Regions from separate parts of the Homo sapiens genome. Here all the other regions are linked to region 1. The links are contacts of gene promoters, found by promoter capture Hi-C in human tissues and cell types (Jung and others, 2019). All regions are on one chromosome and are shown on one strand. The core of a region is centred on a gene start or on the middle of the fragment in contact, and the rest is flanking DNA. Distances in the headings are between cores, read along the strand shown. Region 1 holds the start of GTSF1L (gametocyte specific factor 1 like). Region 2 overlaps OSER1 (oxidative stress responsive serine rich 1). Region 3 overlaps TOX2 (TOX high mobility group box family member 2).

Region 1 (4,900 bases), core at 1,451-3,950:
TGCACTTCATTAATCACTGCCATCCAGAACTTTTTATCCCCCCAAGAAGTCTTTGTTTATAATACTTCGTGTAAGCAGTTGAAGGGGCCAGCTGGGTGGCAAAGTTATGATTACTTAAAAAAAAAAAAAAAAAGCAGTGAGCCTAGGCAACATAGTGAGACCCCATCTCTACAAAAAAATAGAACTAGCCAGTTATGGTGGTGCACGCCTGTGGTCCCAGCTAGTTGTTAGGCTTTGACGAGAGGATTGCTTGAGCCTTAGAGGTTGAGGCTACAGTGAGCTATGATTGCGCCACTGCACACCAGCCTGGGCGACAGAGCGAGGACTCTGTCTCAACAAAAAAACAAAAAAAAAACTTAACAGTTAAGATTTCCTCCTGAAAAACTTTCAAAGGACTTAAGTCTTCTACCTGCTGTTTAAAAAAATATAGTTTAATTTTTGACCAGATAACATATTCATATATATTCCCATGTAAAAGATTCTAAAGAGTCAATAGTAAAGAAGGGCTCTCTCTTGTCTTCCCTGGAGGCAGACAATATCAGTTTCTAGTGAAGAGGCAAGCAAATTTTTCTATTAGGCAACAGGTTGAAAAATTTCAGGCTTTGTGGACAGATCTCCATTCTAGAGTATCCTTAAAGAGAAATTTTATGCAAAAACAAGCACATACATATTCATGTCTTCTCCCGCAACTCTCCCCAAATGGTGGCATACTGTATAGACTGCTCTGGACTTGTTTTTGTTTTTTCTTTTCTTTTTCCTTTTTTTTTTTTGAGACAAAGTCTCGCTCTGTCACCCAGGCTGGATTGCAATGGCGTGATCTCGGCTAACTGCAGCCTCTGCTCCCGGGTTCAAGCTATTCTCCTGCCTCAGCCTCTTGAGTAGCTGGGATTACAGGTGCCCACCACACGCCCGGCTAAATTTTGTATTTTTAGTAGAGATGGGGTTTTGCCATGTTGGCCAGGCTGGCCTCGAACTCCACACCTCAGGTGATTGGCCCGCCTCCGGCTCCCAAAGTGCTGGGATTACAGGCATGAGCCACCGGGCCCGGCCTGGACTTGGTTTTTATCAGTTAAACTGGGGGTTGGCAAACCATGGCCCACCAGTCAAGTCCAGCCTGCCACCTGTGGCTGTAAGGCATTTTATTGGAACCTCTGTTCATTTGTTTACATATTATATGTGGCTGCTCTCGTGTTGCAGTGGCAGGGCCGAGTAGTTGCAACACAGACTGTGTGGCTGACAAAGGCTAAGATATTTGCCATCTGGCCTTTTACAGAAACAGTTTGCTGACCTCTGAGCTCAACAGTGTGTCTCAACCTTTCTATATCAGCACAGAAAGAGCTTCCTCACTTTTTTTAAGGCGGCATAATATTTTGTTGTATGGCTGCAGTATAACTTATTTTTAATCAGGCCCTTTTAATGGATATTTAGGTCATTTTTGACTTTTTTTTTTGTTGCTTAAGACAGGATCTCACTATGTTGCCCAGGCTGAACTCAAGCGATCCTCTCGCCTCAGCTCCCAGAGTAACAGGCTACAGCTGTGATTCAACACACCTGGCTCATTTCTAACTCTTTTGCTGCTGCAAATAATGCTGCAGTGAATAAGCTAGTACTTAGCTCATTTTCCACATGTGTGATTATATTTACAGAATGAAGCCTGGAAGTGGAATTGCTCAATCAAAGCCTGTATGCATTGATAATGTTTATAGCTATTGTCAAATTGCCCTCTGTGGAGGTTGTACCAACTGACATTCTCACCAATGTTATGAAAGTGCCCATTTTGCCCTACCTTTGCCAGCAGAGTATTTTAAGCCTTTTGATATTTATCAATCTGCCAGGTTAAAAAAAGAGGTAGCCCAGGGTAGTTTACTTTGCATGTCTTTTATTCTGATGCATTGCACGTTCTTCCATGCATTGATGAGGCGTGTGCTCCTTCCTCAGCTGGCAGTTTACTGTCCTGGTCTGAGGATCTTCTGGGGACTGGTCTCTCTTGCTGACTCTTTCGTGTCATTTTCACAAACAACCTTTTGAGGAAAAAAAGTCTTAAGGACAAACACATGCTGGCAATTAGCGCCATCGACATTCCAGATATCGGGGCTGGGAAGGCAGGGTGAGACCTGCTGGGTGTCATCGTTCTGCTCTGAACTAGGAGGACTGACTTTCAGAGGGTTCTCGGTGTCCTCTTCTTCCACAGCGCTCCTGTTGACACAAACAGCCTCATGTTCCTCCAGATTTTTGATGGGGACCACGTGGCAGGCGTTGTATTTGCAGGTGGCCATCTTTTTGGCTTTCTTGGGGTTCTTTCTCCTGCACGATGCCAGGTGGTACTGGAATCTGCTGAGTGGGATTCGGTGGTGAGGATCATAAGGGCAAATTTCAAAGGCTTCTGGCTCCATGAGAAATTCTTGAAGCAGGGTATCTCACTGCTAGAGTCTAACGGAAATGCTTCTTGTGGAGAAGCCCTTTTGTAAGAAGGATGGAGTTGTCCTCTGCCCAGTTTTGGCCCTTGGGATTCTGTAGGTGACGGTCTTAACTTGTGGTCTGTTCTCTAGGACTGTGAGTGGTGGATTAGAAGAGAGATGAGGAGCTGCCAAAAGCAGCTACACAGAGAACAGAGTTAGCAAATGGCACCCGAGACAGAACTATAGCAGATGCAAGAGCCAAAAACCCACAGCCGCTTGACTCACGGATATACTATGATGTCAAGCTGCAGTCACCGGTGGTCACAATGGGCAGCCTAAGTCATCAGGAAGAGGCTATTGTGCACTGCTTGGGAGGGGTGGATGGCTTTGGGAATGCTGCCATCTAAAATTGCTCATGGATGTATGTTGTGACTTAAGTCTTTTAACTGTACGTATTTGTTTTTTGTTTTTGTTTTTGTTTTATTTGAGACAGAGTCTCGCTCTGTTGCCAGGCTGGAGTACAGTGGTGCGATCTTGGCCCACTGCAATCTCCGCCTCCCAGGTTCAAGTGATTCTCCTGCCTCAGGCTCCCGAGTAGCTGGGATTACAGGCACCTGCCATCATGCCCGGCTAATTTTTTGTATTTTTAGTAGAGACGGGTTTCACCATGTTGGCCAGGCTGGTCTTGAACTCCTGACCTCAGGTGATCCACCCGCCTCAGCCCCCCAAAGTGCTGGGATGATAGGTGTGAGCCCCTGCGCTTTGCCAGGGCTGGTTTTTGGATGTGATTCTCAGGGCCGTCTTTCTTTACCCTTCTGCTCTGCTGAGGCCCACAGCAGCCTAGTCTCCTTGGGTGTGGGGGAAGGGTTTAAATCTATTCATATATCGCAGAAGGTGAAGCCTTTTGGTGTTCAGCTTAACATGGGAAACATTTCCTATAAAACGCCCCATCTTAGGTCGACCCTGCCGTTGTCCCTCACAGAACTGGACCAAAGTCTGAATGGACGCAATTGACACATATCTCAGGGTGTTAGTGGTTTTGGTCCTCTGACATTCTATTTACATGTCTGGTGTTAGGTAGGATTTCTTCTAAAAATTGGCCTGGAGCTCCTTCCCACCCCCCACCCTGTTAAATTGTTTCTCAAGATCTGAGTGACAGTAGAGAAATACCATATTCCTGAATAGGAAGACTCAAAATCATAAATGAATATTCTCTGTAAACTAAATTACATAAATTACATAGTCATCCTAAATTGATACATAAATATAATGCAATTCCAAATAATTTTTGTAGCTTTATGTGCTGATATCTGATAGAGCAAGTCTCTGCTTGTTATTAGTTTTCCCCCCAAAAGCCTTGACTATCTTCAAGGATTTGTTATTCTAGATCATGTGTCAACAAACTATGGGCCCATGATTCAAATCCAGATGGCTATCTGCTTTTGTAAATAAAGTTTTATTGAAGCACAGCCACACCCATTTGTTTATATATTGTCCATTGGCTGCTTTTGAGCTAGATTTGAGTAGTTGCAACAGAATCCAGATGACCTAGAAACCTCTAATGTTTTCTGTCTGGCCCATTATAGAAAAAGCTCACCCATCCTATTCTTGGTGGTGGTTAAGGAAGCTGACTGTATTCAAATTCTACCTCCTGCCACTTACCAGCCATGTGACCTTGGGGAAGGTGTGTGTGTGAGTGTGTGTGTGTGTATGTGTGTGTGTGTGTTTCCTGGTATTTACTAAGCTCTATTGATGGTGTCTTTTCAGGTAGGCTTTGTAGTTTTCTTTCTATTTTTTGCACGTTAAAAAAAAATTAATCTATGATGCTTTATGGTTTTTTCTTTTTCTTTTTTTTTTGTCATTGTAAATGACACTTTTTCCATCTCTCCACATCCTAGCTATGGTGTTCAGCCTTTTTTGAGAATTGAAGTGATTGGCTTTGTCTACATTGTTACATAATTGCAACTGATCATACATGTGGGATGTCTTGTTACTATCATATGACATGCAGACAATTTAGCAACATGACACTCACTGATGTCATAGTAAGAAATTGTAATGGGAACCCAGGTATAGACAAAAGATTAGACAAAGGATTCTAAAAAAAGGCATCTTTCATAACTACACCATTTATTCTGGGTGTGCCAGTCAGGATAGGCAAGGTTAGGCTGCAATAACGTACAGTGCCAAAACTTCAGTAGCTTAAAACAACGAAGGCTTATGAGTCACTTTCAAGTCTAAAGCAGGTTTCTGGGTTGGGGAGGGGTATTGGGGATCTGCTCCTTGTGGTTAATGGAGCCAGGCTGATGGAGCCTCCATAGCAACACTTGCTTCCTTCTAGAAGAAGGAAGAGGATGTGGGGAGTCATGCGCGAGCTTCCACCAGGAAATGATAAACATCACTTCCGCTACTGTTTCATGGTTCAAAGTAAGTCCTACCTAACTTCAAAGAGCAAGGAGGTACGGTCTTTCCACATGCCCAGAAGGAGGAGAATAGGAACT
Region 2 (4,900 bases), core at 1,474-3,973, 470 kb after region 1:
GGCTTCTAGAATCTCTCTCGGTTCTGCTCCTGCCTTACTGGTTCCTCCTCATCCCCCTGAGTTCTGTACCTTGGGAATGTCCCAAACCTTCGTTCTCTGGCTTCTTTATCTACATTCATTTCTGAGGAGGTCTCTAGTCACATGGCTTTGCATAACCTCCCTCTACCGATGACTTCGAAGTCTGCATCCCCAGGTTGCACCACTCTCCTGATCTTCAGTCAGACATCCAGCCACCTACTCAACATTTCTAAATATCTCACGAGCATCTCAGATTTGACAAGAACAAATGAAACTCTCAATTTCCACTTGCAAATTTGTCCCTCCAGCCGACTCCAAACTTATTAAAACCTTTGGAGTCAACCTTAATTCCTGTCTTTCTCTCACACCTTAAATCCAGTCCATCGGCAAATCCCTGAAGGGATTTAGATTAAAATAATTCCAGAACAGGCTGGGCACGGTGGCTCACACCTGTAATCCCAACACTCTGGGAGGCAGAGGCAGGTGGATCATGAGGTCGGGAGTTCGAGACCAGCCTGGCCAACATGGCGAAACCCCATCTCTACTAAAAATACAAAAATTAGCCAGGCATGGTGGCATGCACCTGTAGTCCCAGTTACTCAGGAGGCTGAGGCAGGAGAATTGCTTGAACAGGGAGGTGGAGACTGCAATGAGCTGAGATCGCGCCACTGCACTCCAGCCTGAGCAACAGAGCGAGACTCTGTCTAAAAAAAAAAACAAAAACAAAAACAAAAACAAAAAAAACCTTCCAGAACACATATTATCTCCTGCACTGCCAAGTGCCCAAGCCACCAAACCCATTGCCTGACTCACTGAAGTAGCTTCCTAACTGTCCTCCTTGCCTTCCCTTAGTCTGCACATAGTAGCCAGTGCTCTTTCAAAAGGTTAAGTCTCGGCTGGGCATGGTGGCTCATGCCTGTAATCCCAGCACTTTTGGAGGGCAAGGTGGGCAGACTGCCTGAGGTCAGGAGTTTGAGACCAGACTGGCCAAAGTGGCAAAACTCTGTCCCTACTAAACATACAAAAAAATTAGCCAGACATGGTGGTGCACACCTGTGATCCCAGCTACCTGGGAGGCTGAGACACAAAAATTGCTTGAACCCGGGAGGTGGAGGTTGCACTGAGCTGAGATCGTGCCACTGCACTCCAGCCTGGGTGACAGAGCAAGACTCTGTCTCAAAAAAAAAAAAAAGTTAAGTCTGGTCATGTCTCTCTCCTCTGCTTCCCCAAATGACTCCCTATCTCTCACAGTAAGAGCCAAAGAGCCAACACCTTTAAAATAGCCTACCAGGCCCTCCATGATCTGGCCCTACTCATCTCTCTCTGACCCCACCTGCTCAAGTTGCATTGACATCCCTGTGGTTCCTTCTGCCAAGAATGCCCCTCCCTCAGATGCCCCCATGGCTCACTCTCTTACTTCCTTCAGGTCTCTGCTCAAATGTCACCTTATCACAGCATCTTCTCTGCCCACCCCAAATAGCAACCCTATCCCTGGCCCACCCCTTCCTATCTCCTAATTCTTTTTCTCTCCATACAACTTACATGTTCATCACCTCTCTCTACTGAGGACAAGGATATTGTTCTGCTTACTGTTCCATTCCCAGAATCTAGTACAGTGTCCCTGGTGTGTTGTAAGCACTTGATATTTATTGAATGAATGAATGAATGAATGAATGAATGAACGTTCAATGAAAACTTGTTAAATAAAGGCATGTGGAAATCAGGATGTTACTTTTTTGGAACATCAGAGTGAGACTTAATCCCTCAATCCACAAACCAAATCCATTTTCCTAGATGTATCAGAGAAAGGAGATTAGTTTGGTACATCACATTCACAAAAGAACGTCAAATATCCCAATGAGGGACCCTAATGTTAAAGTTGGGCCAATTAGGTCTGAGCAGAGTAATTTTTAACTTCAAGATTCATGTTTTGAGGAAGATTTTGCTGAGATGTAGATAACTTACAACTTATTCCCACAAATCTGGAATGCCTAAACTTTCATGCAAGTTGGATTTTGAGTTACTAGGTCATTGGAACTTTGTGCTTTTCAATACTTACACCCTCCTAACACCTTCATATGAAAAGAATACGTATCATCATTCTCTGGTGACTGCTGCACTAATATACAGCACTAAGTAAATAACCAGAGCGCTGGCTTGAAAAACAAACTAAAAGGGATTTAAAGGCTTAAGAACTCGCCTTAATTCAAAGAACATGTTAAGCCCATGTTAAGCCCACTTAACATGAACTTGAATAGCTCACTACTTAATTACAATAGCTCCACTCCTCTACAGCTTTTATTTTATTTTTGAGACGGAGTCTCGCTCTGTTGCCCAGGCTGGAGTGCAGTGGCGCAATCTTGGCTCACTGCAAGCTCCGCCTCCTGGGTTCACACCATTCTCCTGCCTCAGCCTCTGAGCAGCTGGGACTACAGGCGCCAGCCACCACGCCCGGCTAATTTTTTGTATTTTTAGTAGAGACGGGGTTTCACCGCGTTAGCCAGGATGGTCTCGATCTCCTGACCTTGTGTTCCGCCCGCCTCGGCCTCCCAAAGTGCTGGGATTAAAGGCGTGAGCCACCGTGCCCGGCCCAGTTTTAATTTTTTTAAAGGTGAGCCAAAACATTAGTTGTGGAGGTGAAAGCGGGGTGGTACCTTTACAACCAGAAGCTTAAATTTTGGTCCTGGAATCCCTGAGGCCCTTTTAGGAAATCTGAGGTCAAAATTATTTACATGGTACTAAAACATTACAGGTTGAGGGTCCCTAATCTGAAATGCTTCAAAATCCAGAACTTTTTGAGCACTGACATGAGGAGCAAAGGACATGCTCATTGGAGCAGTTTGGCTTTTAGGATTATGGAAGCTGAACTGATAAGCATGTAATGCAAATCTTTCAAAATCTAAAAAAAATCTGAGATCCGAAACACTTCTGGTCCCAAGCATTTCATATAAGGAATATTCAACCTGTAGTTGCCTTTTTCACATTCATTCTCCCAAGTGTACAAAAGTTTGCCAGAGACCACACAATATGCGATATCCCAGAGACTGAATGCAGAAACATATGAGAATCTGTCTTCTAATTAAGCCAAACATTAAAAAAGATTTGCAAAAAGGTAGAACAATGCCACTCTTCTATTTTTTGTTTTGGAAAAGCTATTTTTCATTCAAAAATTTTGTTAGCTTGTAATGAGTTTTTAAATATTTAAAAAAATCTTAGTTTTAATTTCTAACATGGTAAATATTTATATCCTTTTGGAGATTATAACAAAACCTTTTGGGTCCTGAATTTGTCAGTGTAAAGGAAGTGCTTACAAAAAGTTTGAGAATTTCTGCCTTAGATATACTAAATAGTGTACCTTCTGTCACCATTATCAGGAAATATCTGTCACAGCTTCTAGAACTGTGATAAGGTATTTTGCTCCCTTGCTTTAACCACAGCCTTCAGATGTCACTAAATCCACACCAAACCAATGACCAGCAGAGGACTCCCACTACTACTTAAGCTTAGGGTTTTTCTAGTAAACACCCTTCCCCTCTCCCCCAAGTACAAATCACCTATTTGTTGAAGCCCACATCCCATTATCATGAATCAACCACAGCCAGCGCAGTTTTAGTAAATAGTATAAATGTATTTTGTAATTTAAACAAAAGCTTCTGTTAACATTATTGCTAACATGGCTAGACACTGTCACTAAATTTGGTGGCTCTGCTCAGGATGGTCTGAACACATGCAACATTCTTTTTGGAGCCACCTGAAAAACAAGGATTCATCATCCAGCTGAAACCGAAGACAGATTTTTTTTTTACCAAACTGGAGGGAATTTTGAAATGGCTGACCAAATCTGTGGGATACAGAATGTACAAAATTCTCTTTTAGGGTTGCTGGGGTGACAGGGCAGCTCAAAGAGGTAACCATCTATAACATCTGAAACTGAGGTATGAGACCTGTATTACAACTGATAACAAAAAAAAAAAAAAAAAACCGCCATATATTTAAAATGCTGGAGATGGTGAAGACACACACTCGTTTCAAATATTACACCCCCTCCCTCCAACTGAAGCAGCCCATTCCAAGCTGCTTACTTGAAACTGCATGTAACATGTCTTAGGATGAATAGCACCAGCAGGGGCTTATTTAGTGATGGTTAATAACTCTCTCAAACAATAGAGGGCAGGCCAGCTAGTTTATTCAAATTGAATCTAAACCTTAGATCTCTGGCTTAACAATAACAAGAGAAACCTTTATAGACACAATATATCTTGCATTAAATCAGAGACGGTTTAAATCAGTCTTGTAACTTCTAATATTCTGGGCTGGCAACTACAGCATGACAAATGTTTAGTGCAGTTACAAAATCACATTTTACTTTCCTTGGCTAGCAAACCTTAAACAAATCTGAAAAATGCACTGTTTTACAAAGGCTTTTACCATATACCCACTGCTGCCAGTCTCAAGTAATTATGGTTTCTTCATCCCCCAGGAACATTTCTAAATAAGGGGGATTTTTCTTTGATCTGCTCGCCTTGAAGTGTATGTAAGAACTCAAGAGAGTAAGTTGAAAGAATGAAGATTAACTGAGATGCCAAGAAAAGTTTTTATTGCAAGCACAGTGAGCAGAAAGAGATGTCTTCTCACACAAAGTGGCCACAAGGTCTGCCATTAACTAAATCTCTTTGACAAGCCTTCATTGGTTTAAAGCATATGAATTAGCTTCTTGCTATCAGGTGTACATCATTTCTGCCATGTGGGACATTTTCTTGGGAATATACAAGTAATACTCCATGTAGCCTGACAGGTCCTCAATGGTCACATCATCCACGAAGACTCGAGCTTGCTCAGAACAGGATCGGGGAGAGCCAGACAGAGTTCTGGCGTGCAGCGA
Region 3 (4,900 bases), core at 970-3,469, 270 kb after region 1:
ATGTACGGATTATTTTGTCACCCAGGTATTCAGCCTAGTACCCATTAGTTATTTTTTCTGCTCCTCTCCCTCCTCCCACCCTCAAGTAGAACCCAGTGTCTGTTTTTCCTTTTCTTGTGTTGATGAGTTCTTATCACTTAGCTCTCACTTGTGAGTGAGAACATGTGGTATTTGCTTTTCTGTTCCTGCATTAGTTTACTAAGGATAATGGCCTCCAGCTCCATCCATGTTCCTACAGAAGACATGATGTCATTCTTTTTTATGACTGCATAGTATTCCATGGTGTATATGTACCACATACAACATTTTCTTTATCCAATCTGTCCTTGATGGTCATTCAGGTTGATTCCATGTTTGTTGTGAATAGTCCTGCAATGAACATTTGTGTACACATGTCTTTATGGAAGAATGATTTATATTCTTCTGGGTATATATCCAGTAATGGGATTGCTGGGTTGAATGGTAGTTCTGCTTTTTGTTCTTTGAGTGATTGCTATATTGCTTTCCACAATGGTTGAACTAATTTACACTCCTACCAACAGTGTAAGTGTTACCTTTTCTCTGCAACCTTGCCAGGATCTGTTATTTTTTGGCTTTTTCATAATAGCTATTCTGACTGGTGTGAGATGGTATCTCATTATGGTTTTGATTTGCATTTCTCTAATGATCGGTGATGTTGTAGCTGAGATGTTCTTGCTGGTGCGGGTTTTACTTGTTAAAATGGCAAGATGGTAGGGCGACCATATAATTTACTGGCCAAACCAGGACACTGTTTAGAGTGAAATAAAACATTATTAACGTGACACTGGAACAAGAGGCGTGGAGCAGGCCTGCCCTGGCCTAGCCAGGACTCGTGTGTGTTGGGAGGAGCTTGAACAGTGGCAGAGCAAAGCTTTGGCTACTGGTAGGCAGGGCTTCTTGTCCTCATTTTCATAAATGCTACCCATATGACTTTGGATAAGTCATTTTTCCCTTTTGAACCTCAGTTTCCTCATCTGTAAAATGGAAATGCCATTTTCTACTTGTTCTGCATATCATCCGAGGGCTTTTTTTTTCTTGCTTGGGTGTGTGTGTGTGGGATTTATGCTGACTTCCTGTTAATGTGTTTTCCCATCTGTTTCCTGGTATAATTCTCTCAGCTCTTAGGTGGGGTTTTGTAGACAAGGAAACTGAGTAGTAGGCAGTTTGGATAAATTGCCAGAAGCCCTCAGCAAGTAAGATTCCCCATGTCAGTGTAACTCCAAAGCCAGAGCTCTTTCTGCAGATCAACAATGTAACTCTCAATACATGAGAGTTACAGCACCTCATGTTTCCATGTATTTCAAATATTCCTCCCAACAAAGCTGGAAGGTTGTTGGAATACATAATCAGGATTCAACTCTGGGGACACAAGTTGGGTTCTCCCAAGAATCATTTCTCACCATGCATCACCAGGGAGTGAATGCCACTTCTCCTTTTATGCTATACTCCAACTCTCAACAAGCTCTTTGGAAAAAGGTCAAATCACCTGCTACTCCCTCAGTGAATCTTCACCTCTTTCTTATACAGCATTGTGGTGGGAAATGGAGATCGATAGTCAAAATGGCAGCCTGAGAACTTTCATGTAAGCACTAACTGGGATAAAGTAGAAAGCCATCACTAATAAAAGGAACACTTCAACAAGCAGATACAATAACAACTGATTTGTAAATACCTAACAACATAGCTTTGAAATATATGAAGCAATACAGCAGGTTGATAAAATCACAATCACAGTGGAAATTTTTAACACATTTCTCTCAGAAACCAAAGGGTCAAGCAGAAAAAGAAAAGTAATTGTTGTTTGGAAGATTTAAATGATAGAATTAACAAGCTGAAAATTATAAATATTGATCAAAATTAGCCTGATACTGTATCAAAGGAATTCTCAATGGCTTTTAAAGAATTAATATATTTTTCATTCCCTTTTGGGTATCTTTTTCTTTTTTCATGTCAGTGGTTCCTTATTTTATTAGCCTTTTCAAAAAAACAATCTCTTCCTTGTATTTCTTATCTAAAATTTGTTTTCTATTTTATTTTTCTCCTACAGACTTTCGGTTTATTTTGTTATTCTATTTCTACCATCTTGAGTTGAGTGCTGAGTTTGTCTTTCTTGTCTTCTAATAAATTCATTTTGATAAAAGTATAATTTTTCATTGTCCATCTCTCATAAGTTTTGTCAGGTAGTGTTCTCATCATTTCAGTTGTGATTTCCTTTTTAACACAGAAGTTACTTAGATGATTGCTCTTAAAGTGTTTAAGTATGTAGGAGGATTTCCCTCCCTCCATTTTTTTTTCTGCTCGTTTGTTTTTGTTAATAACTAGGTTGGTGCATGTACTAGTCTGTTCTCACATTGCTAGAAAACTACCTGAGACTGGGTAGTTTATAAAGAAAAGAGGTTTAATTGATTCACAGTTCTGCAGGCTCTATAGGAGGCATGGCTAGGGAGGCCTCAGGAAACTTACAATCATGGTAGAAGGGTGAAAGGGAAGCAAGCACATATTCACATGGCAGCAGGAGACAGGGAGATGGGGAAAGGGCTACACACTTTCAAACAACCCGATCTTGTGAGAACTTACTTACTGTCACGAGAACAGCAAGGGGGAAATCAGCCCCCATGATCCAATCACCTTCCACCAGGCCCCTGCCTGAACTCTGAGAATTACAATTTGACATGAGATTTGGGTGGGGATGCAAAGCCAAAGCCTATCAGTGTAGTTAGGTCTTAGAATTTGATCTATCTAATTTCTACCTTTTGAAGAGTTTGAGATTCTCTTTGTAGTTTACCTGGTTATATTTTGTAAGTGTTCTATGGACATTTGAAAGGAATAAATCAAAAGAGTGAATTGCGTCATTCAGATCCTCAATCCTCACTCATTTCTATCTGACTGATTTGCCCATTTTATTTATGGTTTTATACTAACAGTTTTTTACATTTTATATTTCTGTGGTTTTATCAATTTACATAAAAATTTGTCATTTCTTCTTAGTAGATTTATATCATTTATTGACTTAAGTGTTCCTTTTGATATTTTTTAGTGCTTTTTTGCCCTGATTTGTACTTAATTTGTAATTAATTTTGCCACTCTGCTTTTTGTTGGCCTGATACATCTATCTATCTATCTATCTATCTATCTATCTATCTATCTATCTATCTATTTATTTTAAGATGGAGTCTCATTCTGTTACTCAGGATGGAGGGCAGTGGCACAATCTCAGCTCACTGCAACCCCTGCTTCCCGGGTTCAAGGGATTCTCCTGTCTCAGCCTCCTGAGTAGCTGGGATTACAGGCACTCGCCACCATGTCCAGCTAATTTTTGTATTTTTAGTAGAGATGGAGTTTCACCATATTGGCCAGGCTCATCTTGGACTCCTGACCTGAGGTGATCTACCCACCTTGGCCTCTCAAAGTTCTCGGATTACAGGCGTGCGCCACCATGCTCGGCTGGTGTCTATTTATTTTTATCTTACAGGTCATTTTATTTTAGGCATGTCTATTATAAACCATATGCTGTATGTATTTTAATAAAAATATTTTGTCTTTTAATAAAGCAATTGAAATCATTCGTATTATGTTATGAATATTTAGTCTTAATGCTGCCATTTTATGAATATTCTTTATTATGTTTGATAGTTCACTCCTGTTTTCTTTGCAGATTTTTCTAGATTGATAAAGTTCTGTTTTCTTCTACTTTCTTTGGTTCTTCCAATGGTGTAAAATTTTTGCTTTTCCTTAAAATTATAACAAATATTTAATAAATTAATTCATCAAAGTTTCAGGGCAAGATCAGTATGGAAAAATCACTGGTGTTTCTGTAAACCAACAATGAACAACCCATAAAGGAAACTAAAAAAAAATTCCATATATAATAACATCTAAGAGAATAAAATATGTAGGAATAAATTTAACCAGGAAGGGGAAAAACTCCTAAACTGAAAACTACACAACATTGTCAAAAGAAATTAAAGATCTAAATAAATTGAAAGATATCCATGTCTGTGGATTGGAAGACTTAATAATGTTAAGATGGCAATACTATCTGAGCGTCTACAGATTCAATGCAATCTTTATCAAATTTCCACTGGTCTTTTTTGCAGAAATGAAAAATCTGATCCTCAAATTCATATGGAATTGCCAGGGGGCCTGAATAGCACCAGTAATCTTGAAAAATAACAGGCTGGAGGACTCACACTTCCCAATTTCCATAAAGCAACAGTAGTCAAAACAATGTGGTACTGGCATAAGGATAGACATATAGACCAATGGAATAGAATTGAGAGTGTAGAAATAAACCAATACATCTATGGCCAGTTGATTTTATATAGGGGTGTCAAGACCATTCAGTGGGGAAAGAACAGCAGGCTGTGTGGATATTGAGAGCAGAGTATTCTAAAGGAAGGGAACAGCCATTGCAAAGACTCTGGGGCAGAAACGTGCCTGGAGTAGCTGGAGTGGTATGAACAAGGGGAATAGGAGATGATGACGTCAGAGAGGTAAAAAAGGACGTGGGACTGGGGAGAGCAAGACTACATAGCATGGGGCCGTTGTTCCTTATCTGAGTGAGAAGGAGAGCTCTAGAGGGTTGTGAGCAGAGCTTATATTTTAGCAGGATAATTCTGGCCCTGGGGTGAGAATGGACCTTAGCAAAGGTGGAGGCAGGGAGGCCAAGAGGCCAGGGAGGAGACTGCTGCAGTCATCCAGGGCAAAGAGGGTGATGGCTCAAGGTGGAGCTGATGGTATTTTTGGACACATTTCGTGTAGGATGTGAGAGGAAGAGAGGGGTCAAGGGTGACACCTTGGTTTCTGGCCTGAGCAACCAGAAGGATGGAGTGGCCATTAGCTGAGGTGGAGAAGACTGTGGGAGGGGTAGGTTCTCTCT

What was found. The method cuts DNA at HindIII sites, captures the fragments that hold promoters and counts their contacts. A contact is called where the count stands out against the background at its distance.
Region 2: a fragment that was not itself captured here is called in contact with the fragment with the promoter of GTSF1L in region 1 in 2 of the 25 tissues and cell types used here (lymphoblastoid cells and spleen).
Region 3: a contact is called between a fragment that was not itself captured here and the fragment with the promoter of GTSF1L in region 1, in 2 of the 25 tissues and cell types used here (mesenchymal stem cells and spleen).

The regions. Positions count from the first base shown.
Region 1 is chr20:43,724,302-43,729,201 of GRCh38, forward strand. It overlaps GTSF1L (gametocyte specific factor 1 like), which reads right to left and starts at 2,701. Exons shown (of 1, transcript NM_176791.4): 1 at 1,863-2,701. The coding sequence starts at 2,393. The coding sequence ends at 1,947. LOC101927200 (a long non-coding RNA gene) reads left to right here and starts at 4,618. Exons shown (of 4, transcript XR_936741.3): 1 at 4,618-4,826. The HindIII fragment of the contact is 17,400 bases long and covers 1-4,900 here.
Region 2 is chr20:44,192,314-44,197,213 of GRCh38, forward strand. OSER1 (oxidative stress responsive serine rich 1) reads right to left here. Exons shown (of 4, transcript NM_016470.8): 4 at 3,626-4,900. The coding sequence ends at 4,739. Among named protein-coding and RNA genes, the nearest start is that of JPH2, 7.6 kb to the left of the region's middle. The HindIII fragment of the contact is 3,940 bases long and covers 754-4,693 here.
Region 3 is chr20:43,995,593-44,000,492 of GRCh38, forward strand. All of the region lies in intron 2 of TOX2 (TOX high mobility group box family member 2), which reads left to right. Among named protein-coding and RNA genes, the nearest start is that of TOX2, 83 kb to the left of the region's middle. The HindIII fragment of the contact is 3,567 bases long and covers 437-4,003 here.